6 separate regions of the Homo sapiens genome follow, and all the other regions are linked to region 5. The links are contacts of gene promoters, found by promoter capture Hi-C in blood cells and fetal thymus (Javierre and others, 2016). All regions are on one chromosome and are shown on one strand. Each heading gives the region's core, a stretch centred on a gene start or on the middle of the fragment in contact. The rest is flanking DNA. Distances are from core to core; before and after follow the strand shown. Region 1 has its middle 23 kb from the start of LINC00208. Region 2 overlaps BLK (BLK proto-oncogene, Src family tyrosine kinase). Region 3 has its middle 41 kb from the start of GATA4. Region 4 overlaps GATA4 (GATA binding protein 4). Region 5 holds the start of DEFB136 (defensin beta 136). Region 6 has its middle 45 kb from the start of LINC00208.

The links. The method cuts DNA at HindIII sites, captures the fragments that hold promoters and counts their contacts. A CHiCAGO score of 5 or more calls a contact.
Region 1: a fragment that was not itself captured here is called in contact with the fragment with the promoter of DEFB136 in region 5 in 7 of 17 cell types (endothelial precursors, activated CD4 T cells, naive CD4 T cells and 4 more); the score reaches 7.7 in endothelial precursors.
Region 2: a contact is called between a fragment that was not itself captured here and the fragment with the promoter of DEFB136 in region 5, in 9 of 17 cell types (non-activated CD4 T cells, M2 macrophages, M1 macrophages and 6 more). The highest score is 9.1, in non-activated CD4 T cells.
Region 3: a fragment that was not itself captured here is called in contact with the fragment with the promoter of DEFB136 in region 5 in 4 of 17 cell types (M2 macrophages, endothelial precursors, erythroblasts and 1 more); the score reaches 5.7 in M2 macrophages.
Region 4: a contact is called between a fragment that was not itself captured here and the fragment with the promoter of DEFB136 in region 5, in 12 of 17 cell types (naive B cells, neutrophils, M1 macrophages and 9 more). The highest score is 8.6, in naive B cells.
Region 6: a fragment that was not itself captured here is called in contact with the fragment with the promoter of DEFB136 in region 5 in 6 of 17 cell types (activated CD4 T cells, M1 macrophages, M2 macrophages and 3 more); the score reaches 6.0 in activated CD4 T cells.

The regions. Positions count from the first base shown.
Region 1 is chr8:11,598,351-11,601,050 of GRCh38, forward strand. No RefSeq gene overlaps it. Among named protein-coding and RNA genes, the nearest start is that of LINC00208, 23 kb to the left of the region's middle. RefSeq lists an enhancer at 1,088-1,924. The HindIII fragment of the contact is 6,914 bases long and covers 1-2,700 here.
Region 2 is chr8:11,528,878-11,531,577 of GRCh38, forward strand. The region is part of intron 1 of BLK (BLK proto-oncogene, Src family tyrosine kinase); the gene reads left to right. Among named protein-coding and RNA genes, the nearest start is that of BLK-AS1, 28 kb to the right of the region's middle. The HindIII fragment of the contact is 224 bases long and covers 1,198-1,421 here.
Region 3 is chr8:11,661,574-11,664,273 of GRCh38, forward strand. No RefSeq gene overlaps it. Among named protein-coding and RNA genes, the nearest start is that of GATA4, 41 kb to the right of the region's middle. The HindIII fragment of the contact is 736 bases long and covers 908-1,643 here.
Region 4 is chr8:11,716,137-11,718,836 of GRCh38, forward strand. All of the region lies in intron 2 of GATA4 (GATA binding protein 4), which reads left to right. Among named protein-coding and RNA genes, the nearest start is that of SNORA99, 12 kb to the left of the region's middle. RefSeq lists an enhancer at 2,652-2,700. The HindIII fragment of the contact is 2,161 bases long and covers 312-2,472 here.
Region 5 is chr8:11,973,228-11,975,927 of GRCh38, forward strand. It overlaps DEFB136 (defensin beta 136), which reads right to left and starts at 1,372. Exons shown (of 2, transcript NM_001033018.2): 1 at 1,318-1,372; 2 at 710-891. The coding sequence starts at 1,372. The coding sequence ends at 710. The HindIII fragment of the contact is 18,049 bases long and covers 1-2,700 here.
Region 6 is chr8:11,619,692-11,622,391 of GRCh38, forward strand. No RefSeq gene overlaps it. Among named protein-coding and RNA genes, the nearest start is that of LINC00208, 45 kb to the left of the region's middle. RefSeq lists an enhancer at 1,175-1,675. The HindIII fragment of the contact is 4,298 bases long and covers 1-2,700 here.

The DNA of each region.
Region 1 (2,700 bases), core at 123-2,622, 370 kb before region 5:
CAAGCCTGGCCAACATGGTGAAACCCTGTCTCTACTAAAAACACAAAAATTAGCTGGATGTGGTGGTGCATGCCTGTAATCCCAGCTACTCGAAGGCTGAGGCAGGAGAATCGCCTGAACCTGGTAGGTGGAGGTTGCAGTGAGCCAACATCTCTCCACTGCATGCGTGGGTGACAGAGCAAGACTCTGTCTTAAAAAAAAAAAAAAAAAAAAAAAAAAAGGAGATTAGGGTCTGGGTTTCATGGCTCAAGCCTGCAATTCCAGCATTTTGGAAGGCCAAGGCAGGCAGGTCACCTGAGGTCAGGTGTTCGAGACCAGCCTGGCCAACATGGTAAAACCCCATCTCTACTAAAAATACAAAAATTAGCTGTGCATGGTGGTACCTACTCGGGAGGCTGAGGTAGGATAATCGCTTGAACCTGGGAGTTGGAGGTCGCAGTGAGCTGAGATCAAGCCACTACACTCCAGCCTGGGTGACACGGCAAGACTCTGTCTCAAAAATAATAATAATAAAAGAAAAGGAGATTAGGCCACAGAAACACAGAGGGATGACCATGTGAGGACACAGCAAGAATGTGGCCATCCACAAACCCAGGGGAGAGGCCTCAGGAGAAACCAACCCTGCCGGCACCTTGAGCTTGGACTTCTAGCCTCCAGAACAGTGAGAAGATGAACGGCTGGTGTTGAAGCCACCTGGTCTGTGGGACTTTGTCATGGCAGCCTGAGCTGATTAATGCAGGTTTCATGCCAGCTTCAATTCAATTCAAGAAATGCAAATCTCCCAGCCACTGTCCTCTAGGCATTAGGCTGGATAGTGTGGATTCAAAGAGGAAACCCTGGAGGAGGGCGTGCTTGAATACAGGATCTGAAAAGCTGGAGGAGAGAATTCATTTGCACAGGCCTCAGAAGACATACAGAGTGTGGCCTGGTGAATTAGGAGGGACTGTCAAGGAATTCTCCTCAGAGGAGGTGAAATAGGAGCAAATTTCGAAGGCATATTAAGGTTTGGCCCACCAGTCAGGCAGAGAGGGGGGAAGGATCACAGAGCAAAGTGAGCCGTGGGTGCAGAGACTGCCTGTGAAAAGGCACAGCTGCGTGGGTGGAATGGGTGGTGGGAGGCTCAGAACTGCTCCCTCTGCTTGTGCTGCTGTAACAAAATACCATAGATTGGGTAATTTATAAAGAAGAGAAATGGATTCCTCACAGTTCTGGAGGCCGGAAGTCTGAGATGAAGGGGCCGACACTGGTGTCTAGAGAGGGCTGCTCTCTGCTTCCATGGTGGCGCCTTCCTGCTGCGAGCTTACCTGGCGCATGCTCACCTGGCACCTTCTCACCTGGCGGGAGGGGGAAAGGCCTCAGCTGGCCCCGGACTGCCCCTTGATGAGGCATGAATCATTCATAAGGGAGGAGCCCTCACAGCCTCATCACCTCCTGAGGCCCTCACCCCTTTATACTGCCACCGTGGGGATTAACTTTCAGCATGAATTTTGGAGGGGACACATTCAAACGACAGCACTCTCCAAACTTGGTTTCTCCATCTGTAAATGGGATAATAATATCTCAGGCAGTTGGCATAAGGGTCAGCTGAGACAACAGGGAAAGAAGAATGTTTATGGCAAAGCACTCCCAGAGATGACTTCAGATGAAGCCATCACAAGCCTTCTGATTTTTCATTCAACTCACCCACCTCCCACCTGTAACCCTTATTTGGCACAGGAGTCCATCAAACCAGGCCAGGCACAATTGTTTTTTGTTTGTTTGTTTGTTTGTTTTGAGATAGGGTCTCACTCTGTCATCCAGGCCGGAACACAGTGGTGTGGTCAGGGCTCACCACAGCCTTGGACTCGTGGGCTCATGCGATCCTCCCTCCTCGGCCTCCTGAGTAGCTGGGACTACAGGTGCACACCACCACACTCAGCTAATTTTTGTATTTTTTTGTAGAGACAAGGTTCCATGTTACCCAGTTGGTCTCAAATTCCTGGGCTCAAGCAATCTACCGGCCTTGGCCTCCCAAAATGCTGGGATTACATGCGGGAGCCCCCAATGGCCAGCCGGATTGTTTTTAATAAACTTTCTATTTTAGCATAGATTTAGATTTATGGAAAAGCTGCAAAGATAGTACAGAGAGTTCCCACATTCCTCCACGCAGTTTCCATCATTGTTAACATCTTACATTAGTATGTTAAACTTGTCAAATTAATGCACCAATACTATTATTGATACGTTACTACAAACTAAAGTCCATATTTTTTCAGATACTTAGTTGTCACCTAATGCCCTTTTTTTTCTTCCATGACCCTGGAGTATATGTCATCATCATGCCTCCTGAGGCTCCTCTTGGCTGTAACCGTTCTAGCCTGATTTTTGAATTCCAGGACACGGCATTTGCTAAGAAATGTACCTATGTATAGAAGTAGGAATGAGGGAACAGTTGGAGGATTTTTGGAGAAAAGCACATTATTTTTCAGCATTGTATCATTTGGCGAATCAACAACACGTGTTTGTTACAAATGAGACTATCTGTTCGCTGAAGGAGCCCTAAAGAGCCTGTGTTTATGATATTCTCAGTTCACTTTATCCTTTGCACTAAAAAATACTGATTTACATGTGTACATACACATAGACACACGCACACACACGCAATTTTAGAATTCACTCGTGTGATAGCCCCAGTCCTTCCCAATAGCCTGTCTCTGGCCC
Region 2 (2,700 bases), core at 60-2,559, 440 kb before region 5:
ATTATAAGTGGGAGCTGAACGGTGAGAACATATGGACACACAGAGGGGAATAACACACACTGGGGCCTATTGGGGAGCGGGAAGGAGAGCATCAGGAAAAATAGCTAATGGATGCTGGACCGAATACTTAGGTGATGGGTTGATAGGTGCAGCAAACCACCATAGCACACGTTTACATATGTAACAAACCTGCACATTCTGCACACGTACCCCATAACTTAAAATTTAAAATAATAGTAATAATAATAATTAGCCCTAATATAAGGAGTGAAAGTGTAAATCGCCCAGTGGGTTCACCTTGCCCGCTGCCTAGACAAAGCCAATTTATCAAGACAGAGGAATTGCAAAAGAGAAAGAGTAATTCACACAGAGCCAGCTGTGTGGAAGACCGGAGTCTTATTATTACTCAAATCAGCCTCCTTGAGCATTCGGCGATCAGAGTTTTTAAGAATAATTTGGTGGGTGGAGGAAGCCAGTGAGTCGAGAGTGCTGATTGGTTGGGTCAGAGATGAAATCACAGGGAGTCAAAGCTGTCTTCCTGCGCTGAGTCAATTCCTGGGTGGGAGCCACAGATCAGATGAGCTGGTTTCTTGATCTGGGTGGTGCCAGCTGATCCATCAAGTGCCAGGTCTGCAAAATATCTCAAGCGCTGATCTTAGGAGCAGTTTGGGGGGTGGGAGATCAGAATCTTGTAGCCTCCAGCTGCATGACTCCTAAATCATAATTTCTAATCCTGTGGCTAATTTGTTAGTCCTACAAAGGCATCTAGTTCCCAGGAAAGAAGGAGGGTTCTTCTGGAATGCGCTGTTATTGTCTTCATTTTTAACTACAAACTATAAATTAACTTCTTCCCAAAATTAGTTCAGCCTATGCCCAGGAATGACCAAGGACAGCTTGGAGGTTAGAAGCAAGATGCAGTTGGTTAGGTTAGATCTCTTTCACTGTCTCAGTTGTAATTTTGCAGCGGCAGTTTCAAAAGTCCTAGCTTCAGGAGTCCCTGTAGAACTGACCTGAAGCCTCAAGGAATCCAGGTGAATAACCCCAAAAATCAACCAAATATGGGGTCATCAGCAGAAGCTCAAGAACAATGGATGAGGCTGGAATCTAATAACAGGTGTGCTGTAGCTGTTTTGAAACATAATTTTTCTCTCTCCAGTTTATTTTTACTAAAGACAAGACCAATTTATTTGCAAAATAAGCTTGCCTTATTATACTTTGCCTAATTATTTACATAAAGTGCAGCAAGAATAATTATTGGCCATATAGGCTCTTTTTTTCTAACTGGCTTTGCTGGAATTTTTTTCATAAGGAATCTCAGATTAGACCTTTTAAAAGTCTCTTGAGCCCAGCCAAGGATTTATTTGTGCCTGCAGATACTTGTATGAATTGGGTGAATTCCTTTCTTCTTGAGGTCCCAACAAAGCTTGGAGTTCCTGGGCCTGTCAGAAAGTGACATTCTTTATTTGCCACAGGTCGGGAATCCTGTACAGGACAAGGTAGGAGGTCAGTTCCTCCAAGGGGCTTTCATCATCTCTGTAGGTCAGCCTCGATTTCTTAAAGCAGTCTGAAAATATGTCATTTCAGTCAAAGCCTTGGTAAAATAAGCAGTGTCTCCAACTGTGTCTTGCTACAAAAGAAAACACATTCTTATTGAACTTACTCAAGTAACTATATTGCCTTATGTTAAAAATACTCACAAATAATTTCCAAATTCTGGAGAAGGCAGGTAAAGAGAAAGAAATATGCTCTAAATTTTGTTTACAGGAGTATATTTTGCTCAATTGTTAAAAGTTGTAAATAGCTCAGTAGAAGTTTTCTTTACTCTGAAAAACAAAACAAAAAGAATCAGCAACAATTTTAAGTGAAAAGTCGAAAAGATTTTTCCAGTTACTGAATGTTTTGGTTGTTTCCAGCTGGGAGCTAATTAATATGAGTAACAATGCTAAGAACATATATGTCAAGTCTTTCTGTGGTCATATGTTTTTATTTCTCTTTGATAAGCAACAAGAAGTGAAATATCTGGGTCACAGGTTAAGAAGCTCCCAAATTGTTTCCTAAAGTTGTTTCGTTTCACCTTACCATCAGCCTCAGGTGAGCATTCTAGTTTCTCCATATGCTTGCCAACACTTGGTATGATCGGTCATCTAATTTTAGCATCTGGGTGGTTGTGTGGTGGCATTTCACTGTGGTTTTAGTTGCCATTCCCCTAATGACTGACGACACCGAACACCTGTTCATGGGTTTGTGTGCTGCTCAGCTGTCTTCTCTGTTCAACTGTTTGTTAAATTGAATTTTTGGCTTCTTTTATAGAGTTTAAAAGTTAATTATATATTCTCATATAGATACATGTTTTTCAAAAATGTCCTGCCTGTCTCTGATTTAGCTATTTCTTTTCTTAATGGTGTTTTTAAAGTGCAGAAGTTCTTAATTTTGAAAAGTCTAATTTATCAATTTTTCTTGTATACTTTATGATCTTCTATTCTAAGGGAATAATCTATTCTAAGGGAATAGAAGGTCACGTTTGTATGCTTCTGACTCATATTCTTTATATCCTTTGTGACACCAAGGTCACAAAGATTTCCTTCTAGGTTTTCTTCTAAGAATATAATGTACCTCTTTAAAGCAGCTTTTAAGATTGTTTTTATTTATCATTGGTTTTCAACAATACGATTATAATGTACCTTGGTGTGGTTTTCTTCA
Region 3 (2,700 bases), core at 26-2,525, 310 kb before region 5:
TAGATCCCAAAGAAATGTCACAGAGAAATAGTGACTTGAAGTCCAAAGAGGAAAAAAAGGGAGGCCGCAGGCACATGATGGATCTGTGCAATAGTCATACGTAAGCCGCCGTGATGTCCACACCACGGAGACCCCGTCTGCTATGCATCACCCATAGCACGGGCAGCCGAACCCCAGGGCTGCCCTGATAAGAGGCCGAAACGGTGGTAAATCATCCCACACCTCCATCCCACACCTCTGGACTCAGTTTCTCCATCTATGAAAGGGAAAATTCTGTCCACTGCCAGGTATTTATCATGAGGATAAATGAACTGCATTGCGCCAAGTGATCTTGGAACAGGAAGGCTGGTGGATTAAATAAAGATTTACAAAGAATTATGTCCAAATGATCCTTATTTATGATGTGCTTGGTGAGGGTAACAGATGAGAACTCGAAGAGACCCTGGGAGAACCTGCTTCCAGTGCCTCTTTTTCCAGATGGAAAAAAAAAAAAAAAAAACAAACACCAAAATTGAGGCCCAGAGAAAAGAAGGAACTTGCCCAAGATAAACTAACCCCTTCCCCACCTCCACCTTCCTTAGCTGGGTAAGGCAGGGCTCAGGAAAGACAAGTTTTGCTACAAGCTGTCCTCAAAGCTACCCTTCTAGCCCTGAAACGGGTGTGCTCAGAAAGAATTTTTAGCAATGCAAAGAAAAATTGTAGTAAAATGTTAAGGAACATAGCAGAATAAAAAAAAAATTGCTCACATCCTATGAACTGCAATAATTGTGTGTGTGGGGGGAAACAGTATTTCAAAACATGAAAATAGTTGTGTTTGGAAGTGGGTTTTATTTTCAAATTTTGTTTCTATTGTTATTGCTTTGTTACTGGTCTGTTACAAATTATTAACATTACATTCTGTTTGTAAAGCTTTTGTTTTCAAGCAATGCAGCAGTGAATAAAATGTTTTAAAAGAAAGAAAGAAAGAAAGAAAAGCACTGCCTTACTCCCACTACCCAACCCCCTAATCTCATTCTCCCAGAGTAACTATTTTTACATTTGCAGGGTCTTTCCAGACCTTTCTTGGATACAAATTTGAACCTAAATGTTTGAATTTCTGTGTTTTGTATGTAAAGGGGATGGTGGTGGTGGTGGTGGTAGTTCCCTGGTACTATTATTCAACAAACAAGAACAAACCGTTCTGTGACCCAAGCCATTCAAGGGAGGCGAATGCACTGTTAGCGCCACCAGGAAAACGTGGCTTGTGAGCTGGGTGAGAACAGAGTTCATTCACCTCCCTCAGGAGAGACTTTACTCCCAGAAAGACTGATTCAGGCCAGCTCCGGGTGGCCTGGCTCCTTCCCCCCCAGCCCACAAGGCCCCCAGGTTTATTGGCCTCATGGACTCAACTAGTACCATTGTAGTCAGAGGTCAGTTTAATGGGAGGTGGCTCTGAGACAGCAGCGAATTGGTGTATTTGAGTGACTTGACAAAAACGAATAATAAGACAAGAATTCTGGAGAGAGTAGGTAGAGCTGACATTATGTCCAATATATTGTAATGTGTGTGGATAATATTCCTGGGAAATTCACCACCCTTCAGACACCATCTTTGTAAAGCATTCACTTATCTTCAACCCTGGGTTGTCCTAGTGTGCTAATCCAAGCTTTGGAACAGGACGCTATCATAATGCCAGTAGCCCTGTGTAGGATCCCACCATTGACACAGCATCCCCATCAACACTTATCCCATCCCTTGATCCCAAAACACTTGGAGCAGGCTCTCCATATTGAGGGTTTCTAGCTTTAGCAGATAAAAATGCAGGATACCCAGTCACAAGTGAATTTCAGATAAACACCCAATTATGTTTCTTAACTAGTTAGTGTTGGTATGAAAGTTAATTTCTTCAGAAACTTCTTTTATAACCAGCTACCGTATAAAACTATCTTATGAGCTGGGGTACCAGCCAGGGACCAGTGAGGAGACAGAAACTATATCAGTATTTTTAACAGATAATATAATAAAAGGAATTGTTAACTAGGCATGGAAAAACCACTAAAGCAGAAAGATAATCCTAACGTATGATGAAGGTAGAGACTGCAGAGGCAGATATTACTTGTAAAGTTGGGCAATCAGAAGAAAAAGGTTGAAATTATTAACATTTAGACACTTGGAGGAGAGGCCCATGGGGCTGGAAACATATGTCTGAGGAGGGGGTGAGTGACAGACAGTACTGGCATCTCTGACAGCATCTTGAAGAGTTTGTTTCTGCAAGAATAAGAAAAACTGGGCTGGGCGTGGTGGCTCATACCTGTAATTCTAGCACTTTGGGAGGTGGAGATGGAGGGAACACTTGAGCTCAGGAGCTCCAGACCAGCCTGGCCAACATGGTGAAACCCCATCTTTACCAAAAATGCAAAAATTAGCTGGGCGTGGTGGCACATGCCTGTAATCTCAGCTACTCAGGAGGCTGAGGCAGGAAAATCAGTTGAAGCTAGGAGGCGGAGGTTACAGTGAGCAAGTATCGTACCACTGCACTCTAGCCTGGGCTACAGAGTGAGATTCCATCTCAAAAAAAAAAAAAAAAGACAAAACTGAAAACTGGATTCAGCTGCTGCTACAAGAATGAACTGTTGCTGCCATGATAGAGAGGCTAGAGAAAAGCATTTATGACTAGGAAGCAAACGAAAGGTGTATTTCCTTCACCTCCACAAGCCTTGT
Region 4 (2,700 bases), core at 142-2,641, 260 kb before region 5:
TTCTCCGTCTTGGCTACTGTGAATAATGCTGCTATGAACATGGGTATGCAAATGAAACCTTTTGAATTTGGAGAATGTGACTATATTACCTAATTTTAAAAACATATTAAACTAATTAAGTTTTAAAAAACAGATACATGATATTCATGAATCAACCTGAAAGTAGCATCTTTTTCTTTTTTTTTTAAAGAAGATTCTCTATTTAGTGTTTATGGATGCACAGGAAAACTGCTTTAAGGCATAAGTTGTTTTTTATTAAATTTGTCTTTTACCTATTCTTTTACAATTTTGGGGGTTTTCCTTTATGCTCAAGCTTCCTCAAGATTCTTCAAGGCAGATCAAAACCATCCTCAGTGGCAATCCTGTATTTGGCTTTTGATTTTGCTTATTTCACAGGAGGTTGCTTTACTGAGAGGGGGAAATCTCTACTCCTGGTCTCAGTGCTGGTAGTGGATCTAAATCAGCAATGGGCGGACACCCCAGCCCCACACTACTGTGGCTTCCCCACTTGTGGGCACAAACAGTCACGTACTAGGCAATGGTGACCTCTCCAGGTAGGCAGTTTTCCCTCAGGTTATATTGGAGTTAGAACCTGCCTGAAAACCACTAACCGGCTGCAGCGGTGGGATTGTGTGAAGAACAAGTTACCTTCCTCCAGGGCAAGGTGATTCTTTTAAACAAATTTTAAGACAATTTAGTTGTACTGAATTTAGAGCTGAAGCCAGTTGCAAATGTAGCTGCTTGTGTCTGCATAAGAAAGAGGAAGTATGCTAGTTTTCCTTTCCTTGTTCCAGAAGAGGGCAGTTCTTGCCAACGCGAGCTGCTGCTTTAAGAACTTGAAGCAACTTTTCTGACATCTGAAACTATTTGTCTTTTGGGAACTTATTTGTCCTAGCCTGCCTGCAGAACCAGCTGTTAAGGCTCTGTTGGGAAGGAGTATCGCTCTGCTATATTGACCTCTGGTAGACCATGACATGGCCCCATATGCCATACAACATAAACTGGTTACTAAGAGTAATTTAATGGCTATCTCTAGAGCTACTCTTTTGTTACCTTCTAAAGAAGGCAGGGAAGAAAATATAAATGGGGTTATAATAGGAATAATCTTGAATCTGTTTTAATTTATACAAAATACATTTATAAGTTTTGGCACATTCACGTTTGGATACTGGCTAACAACTTTTTAGCGAGAGTAGCCTGTATCTTGCATGTCATTCCATTGAACAGTAAGGTGGATCCCTGTCAATGAAGAAATCATCTGATGCCAGGGACTTTGAAGTCTTTCTCCAAGAGGTAGATACGATGATCTCTGTTTTGCTGGAAAGAAAGCTGATACCCAGAAAGAGCCTGTAATCTCAGGTCCCCGTGGGTAGTAAACAGCCCTGGTTTGGAACCCAGGTAAGTCCAACCTGCAGGATTGTACTTTCCCCCTTTCCCCACACTTTGTATTTGCCAAATCTGATATGAGGGCACTTGGCTCTTCAGAACCAGAAGCTATGTGTGATTGAAGGGCTCTATTAAACCTTAGGATTTTCCATGACTTGTCGCTCCCATCCGCTTCCTCTCCCCAGGGTAGCTTCTTGTCTGAGTTTCCGTTTGCTTCCCACCAATCACTGTCTCTCTAGGAGCAATGTCGTCCTACGGAATCTTCCGTATCATTCCTCAACTGTAAGCTCTGCAGTTCAGGAATGCAATGTTAGGAATCCCAGTGTTGCACAAACTTCCTTTCTAGCCGTTGGATTCTGGTGTGCAGAGAACTAAAGAGACTTCCCAGGATTCAGACCCTTCCAATGGGAGGATTCTCCTAACTCTAGGGGAACTGTTGGCTGCTTAAGAGCAAAACCATATGGCTCACTCAAAAATCCCTTTCCTAAGAGAAATCTATAACTGACCCTCTGTGTTCCCTTTTCTCTGAAGATTTCAAATATATTTGTGGTAAAAGCAGAGAAAGAAGAGGAGAAAATCATAATAAAAGCACAATAATGATGATTTTAGTAAAGATAAGAATGGGGCATGGATCAAGACAATGACTAAAACCCCAGGCAGGAAAAGCCCCGTGGAATTGGTCTGAACTGAATGTAGCAGCCCATCAGTGGAAGTTTTCTTGTTTCTGGCAGGTGGCCTATGCTTTTATCTATTACTGCTCTGTAATCAGAATTGAGCCACGATATTCAAGTTTCTTATCTGAATGATGGGAATTTGGTTTTCTGGCCTTCTGCATTTTGCAGGAGCCCAAGAATTGACCTGATGTTTTAAAATATATTTTCCCTCCAAAGGAGGAGTAAAATCCAGACAGGTGGGCCATTCTGTGTGTTTAAAGTCATTGAAAAGCCTCTGCAAGTAAAATTTGAGGCTGTCTGTAACCCACATTGAATAGTTACAGATATATTTTATTTTGGAGGATAAAAAATCAAGAAGTTACTACCACAATTTGGTGGGAATTTTGAATTTTGGAGTTTTCCTTTGTACTCAAGCTTCCTCACGATTCTTCCAGGCAGATCAAAGCCATGGGTTTTGGGATCCCCTAATCGCAAATCCAGTTTTGCTTCTTAAAATCTAATCAGTCCTTAAGTTATTTTTTAAATCTTCCTTTCTACTCCCCAGTTGAAATCTCCATTTCTACTTCTAGAAATCCAGTCAAACCTTATCGCCTCCATTTAGAACTGATCGATAGCAACTGGTGAGCAGGTTAATTATAAT
Region 5 (2,700 bases), core at 122-2,621:
CTTGGAAAATATTCTTCATCTGCCAAATGGGAGAAATTGTAGATTTTATTGTGTGGAGTAATTTCCCTAATAGATGTAAACCACTCAAGTGTGTGACTGGTGTGTGGTTAGCTTTTGTTTCTATGGCCAGAATATATCATTGCTTGGGCCTGTGAACTTGTATTAATCAATAGAATTTGAATTTTTATTATTATTTTTTGAGACGGAATCTCACTCTGTTGTCCAGGCTGGAGTGCAGTGTCGTGATCTCTTTTCAATGCAACCTCCGTCTCCCGGGTTCAAGCAATTCTCCTGCCTCAGCCTCCTGAGTAGCTAGGATTACATGCACCCACCACACCCGGAAGATTTTTGTATTTTTAGTAGAGATGAGGTTTCACCATGTTGGCCAGGCTGGTCACAAACTCCTGACCTCAAGTGATCTGCTCACCTTAGCCTCCCAAAGTGTTGGGATTACAGGCGGGCAGGCGTGAGCCACTGCGCCTGGCCTGAATTTGAATTTGAAAGAGGAATGAGTGATTGGAGATGGGAGGGTAGGAAAAATAACAGGGGATGCATTTCATGGCAGTGCTGCCTTTACAAAATGTTTCTGGAATTTTGCCAGTAAATTGTCAGAATGTGGTCCTCATTTCTGCCCATGGCTCACTTACGAGCTCTAAGATCCTGACACACAGATTAGGAGTGTAGTACTTTGAGCCATTCACATATCCTTTTAATGAACCCATGGATCTTTGGCTTGCGGGGGTTGAAAACGTGTCATATTTTTACAGCAAGACAGAATATTGTGGCAGAACGCAATCCACCTGTATCCTGGCGGACACCCGAAGAAACATACGGCTTTCTGGCTAGTGCAGGTGCGAACTTTGACTCCATCATTCCCAAACATACCTTTTCCTGAAGCGGGGAGAGACCACAGAAAAGAAAAATCAATCTTAATGAGGCTGGGAGAAATCCTAGGCTTGCCATCACCTCCTGGTTGATGGCTTGTTAGTTGTGATTTACCTCACCTCTTATCACAACTCAGCAAGGCAGATAAAGCTCAGGGTAGCCAGAGGCATTGGAGGGGAGATAGGAATCTGGGTGGCTGCACGATCTGTGTGCACAATGACATCCACCCCCGTCCCCGGTGCACTGGCAGATCTTCCAGCTGCAGCAACAGCAGAGCAGGGCAGGAGCTGGGGTCCGCTCACCATGCCCCTAACATGGTGGCCCATTTGATATTGGTGTCCTGTTGCTGGGCTTATAGTTAGAGGGTTTTTTAAGCATCTCAATCTTTGGGAACACCCACTTTTATGTTCAGACTCACGCCCACTGTCTTACCTGAAGGCAGTAAGATCACCAGGAAAAAGAGTAATGCAGAAAGACAGAGGTTCATGGCCGAAGAGGGCACAGAGTTGGAACTCCCAGTGGTGTCTGCCTGGGAGGCTCCTTTATAGAGCTGGGCTGGGCTGCGATGGGTGGGGCTGGACCCTGGCCTCACTCTTCCTGGAGGGGCAGACTGAGGAGATCACAGGGTTCTGCAGAATTCGAGGAAGAAAAGGCCCTGGCCTTTCAGTGCTACCTCCTTTTCTACAAACCGCGGGAAAACCAGAGACTCAGCTAAGGCTGTCACGTTTCCTGATAGCAGAATAGGAGAAAAGACCAGGATCCCCATGCCTAGGCCTGAGCGCTTTCCCTCTGCCTTCAAATGTACTTTGATATAAACATGGCAGTGAAAATGTCTGCTCTGTCTCTCCTTTCCTCTGGAGCACCACTGAAAGCTCAGGAGCGCAGAGAAAGGGTGTTATGAAACACAGGCTGAATTTAAGCCTGGAAAGACAGTTCCGACACACGGAGTCTCTCAAATTGTCAACCAGTGGCCTGACCAAGAGAAGGTAGGGGCTCAGAACTAGTGGAGAAGGGACAGCTTCCTTGTCTAGCAGCTGACTTATTTACCTGGCTGAAGGCAGATACTGCAAAAAAAAAAAAAAAAAAAAGTCCTGGAAAAGTTCACTGATGGACTTTGTTCTCCAAATGGCTGGTATGAAACGTTGGCTAGGATGAGGGGACTCTGAAGGTTCTAGGAGAGATTTCTTTTTTGGAGTTGAGGAGTTGAAACTCTCCCTTAGAAGAGTCGGTTCAGTGCTGTGTTCAAGGTTGGATGCACAGTGTCCAGAGTGGAGCCAGACAGGGCTTCTCTGGAGTGACAGAGACTCAGCCCTGGAGAAGGGCCCTTAGGCCTGTCTCTCTTGGGGTGATGAGGGATGTCTGAGGGTGAAGATGACACTAACTTTGATTTTGTTCTGACCCTTAAGGCAGGCTTTTACGCAGGCAGCCAACAACCACAGGGCTGTGTGTGGTGTGTCAGTGGAGCATGGTATTCCTGGGTACACTCTGCTTTGCAGGCCTAGACCCTCAGATGCATTATTTAGCATCTCAGCCTCAAGAACTCCTCAAAAAGTGCATTGGAAGGTTATGCGTGGTTTTTTTTCAGGATGAAATGAGATACAGCTTATAAAATGCTTTGCACGCACACTGCCATACAGTAGGTACTCAATATTATTATTATTATTGTTTTTTGAGACAGTCTTGCTCATCACCCAGGCTGGAGTGCAATGGCCCAAACTCGGCTTACTGCAACCTCCATCTCCTGGGTTCGAACGATTCTCCTGCCTCAGCCTCCGAAGTAGCTGGGACTACAGGTGCCCACCACCACACCTGGCT
Region 6 (2,700 bases), core at 22-2,521, 350 kb before region 5:
AGTAGCTGGGATTACAGGCATGCACCACCATGCCTGACTAATTTTTGTATTTTTAGTAGAGACGGGGGGTTTCACCATATTGCCCAGGCTGGTCTTGAACTCCTGACCTCAAGTGATCTACCCATCTAGGCCTCCCGAAGCGTTGGGATTACAGGCATGAGCCACCATGCCCAGCCGTATGGCATTTCTTGAAAGAAATTTGTGAGCTTTTGTATGGTGGTACTGCCTGGCTGCCAGCAGCTTGCCTCTGGCCATGGCTCCCACTGTCTCTGCCTGTTTACCAGGCTTATTAATGCAATTATTTCTATTATATTAGCACATTTTCCTTCACTATGTTATCCAACTAAGTAGAAAACAAAAATAAAAGCACCGATACTAGTGATGGGAAGGATTAGGTCTCAGGAACTTAATTCAATAGAGACAAGAAGACACAAGTGGCAGATCAGCTTCAAGCTGAAGTGTGTGAATCACCTTGGCTGGTCGATTGTGTTCACCTGTGAAGGAAAATCAGAGGAAAGGCACAAAATCAGAGACCAGCACGATGAGAGGACAAGTACAAAAGGATATCATCAAACATTAAGTTTAAAAGTAAGTTGTAATTGGAGCATTTATAGTATTGTTTTTAGTTCTTAGAGAATAGAATCTCTTTATAATATATAAATCTATTGCCTAGCTTAGCACATTTGAAACTGTCTTAGTGTGTGTGTGTGTGTGTGTGTGTGTGTGTGTGTGTATTTAACTTAATGAATTTGGAGGGAGAACGTGGATAAGACGAGGAGATTGTCAGTCTCCTCGATGCCTGAAAGTGAGCCAGGATCAGCGTCCCACCCAGGCAGCCGCTGAGCCCATGAAAACCCACAGAGAAAGCTGCCAGTCCAGAATGTTCTTAGGATCCTCTGACACCTGTGTATGAGGCCCTGTTCCCTCCTCTTGCTTCCTGGACCATCTGCTTCCCCAGAGGACGGCTCCCGGGGCTGCTTCTGGAGGGGGCTTCTCTTGCTTGTCGAGGCCCCACTCCTGTGCCCAGCCCGGTATCCCTGTTCTCCGTGTCTGCCAGGAAATCGGGGAGTGGTGAGGTCTGACCACAATAGGCAGCCTGGCTTTTCCTACCCTGCCTGGTTCCCATGCCCTCCCTCCCCTATTTCATCCTCTCCCAGACTTCTTGAGGCTCAGGAGAAGACAGAGGGCTCACACACCTCTGGTGAAGTCAATGAAACGCTCACAATATTCCAACTGTGTTCCCCAAGTCACTGGAGCGGAAAGCCTGGGAGCCATCCTCACCGCCCTGGAGCCTCACGTCTGACCTCCAGCCACCTCCTGTCAATTTTCCGTCCAAAGCCCCCGAGAAATCCCCACTGCTGCTGCCCTGGCTCAGACCATCACTGCAGCTCCTCTGGGCTATTTCAACAGCCCCTGCTACTCTTTCAGCCCCAATTTGCCTCTCTCTGCTTCATTCTTCCCACTGTTGCCTAAGGGATCTTTCCGGAATGCCACTCCATCACCTCAAATCCTGATGAAAACACTTCAGGGCTTCTTACTGTCAAGCTCCAGCCTCAGCATTCCCAGCCCACCTGCCTCTCCAGCCTTACTTTCTCCTCTCCTCCCCACCAAGCCCAAGCGGAAGCCACAGGAGGCCATCAGCAAGTTTACCCACAGTGTCTAGAATGCCCCTGCTCCTTGGGGGCGTTCACACCCTTACATGTCAGATCCGCCTTGCTGCTATTCCTCCTCCGTTTCCCCAAGAGGAATTAATTCCTCCTTCCTATGCTTCCACAACACTCGAAAACTATCTATTCTCCCTTTAACACACCTGTGCTGTAGTGATGACTCTCGTCTCTCTTCTTTATGGTAATCTTCTCAAGGAAACACCATCTTCCATCTCCAGCTGCAGGGCCTGGTCCAGCCTTGGCACAGAGTTGGCACTTAGTAAATATCTATTGAATTTATTTAATTAGACTGAAAATATGTAGCCCTTAACTATGTATGGTTTACTATGAAAAAAGTGGTTACATAACTGTTTACGGAGAATCAAAGATATGCTTCTAAATACCAAAACAAAGAGTTTGATTTTAAAATAATGTATCAGCAGCGAGGTGGGGTGCCACACAATCAATGCATGTTCAGCAAACATATGCAGAACTGGAGGGACTCTCCCATAAACAGAGGACTCCCTCTTTATGGGACCATCTGCTAATCCTCATTCCAGACACCTCAACCTTCTCAGTCAGAACAGGAGACAAAATTATTGGCATGGGAAGGAGTGGGAATTAGCATCCCTTCTCTGTGTAATCCAGAAATTAAGGGTAGTAGCAATAGCTATGGTTTCCTAAATATCTTCTGCATGCCAGATGCATCTAATAATTCATATCTAATCTAATATCTAATAATGACCACACACTGTGGTTATAGTAGCCTCTCCTCACTTCTTCTTCTTCTTCTTTTTTTTTTGACATGGATTATCATTCTGTCACCCAGGCTAGAGTGCAGTGGCATGATCTTGGCTCGCTACAAACTCCACCTCCCAGGTTCAAGTGATTCTCATACCTCAGCCTCCTGAGTAGCTGGGATTACAGGTGCTCACCAACACACCCAGCTAATTTTTGTCTTTTTAGACTTTCCACGCATGTCAAGGCTGTCTCCCTGCCCCTTTCAGCCCTCCTATGCTCCCCATCTCTACCCTGCCACCCCCTCACTGCCAAC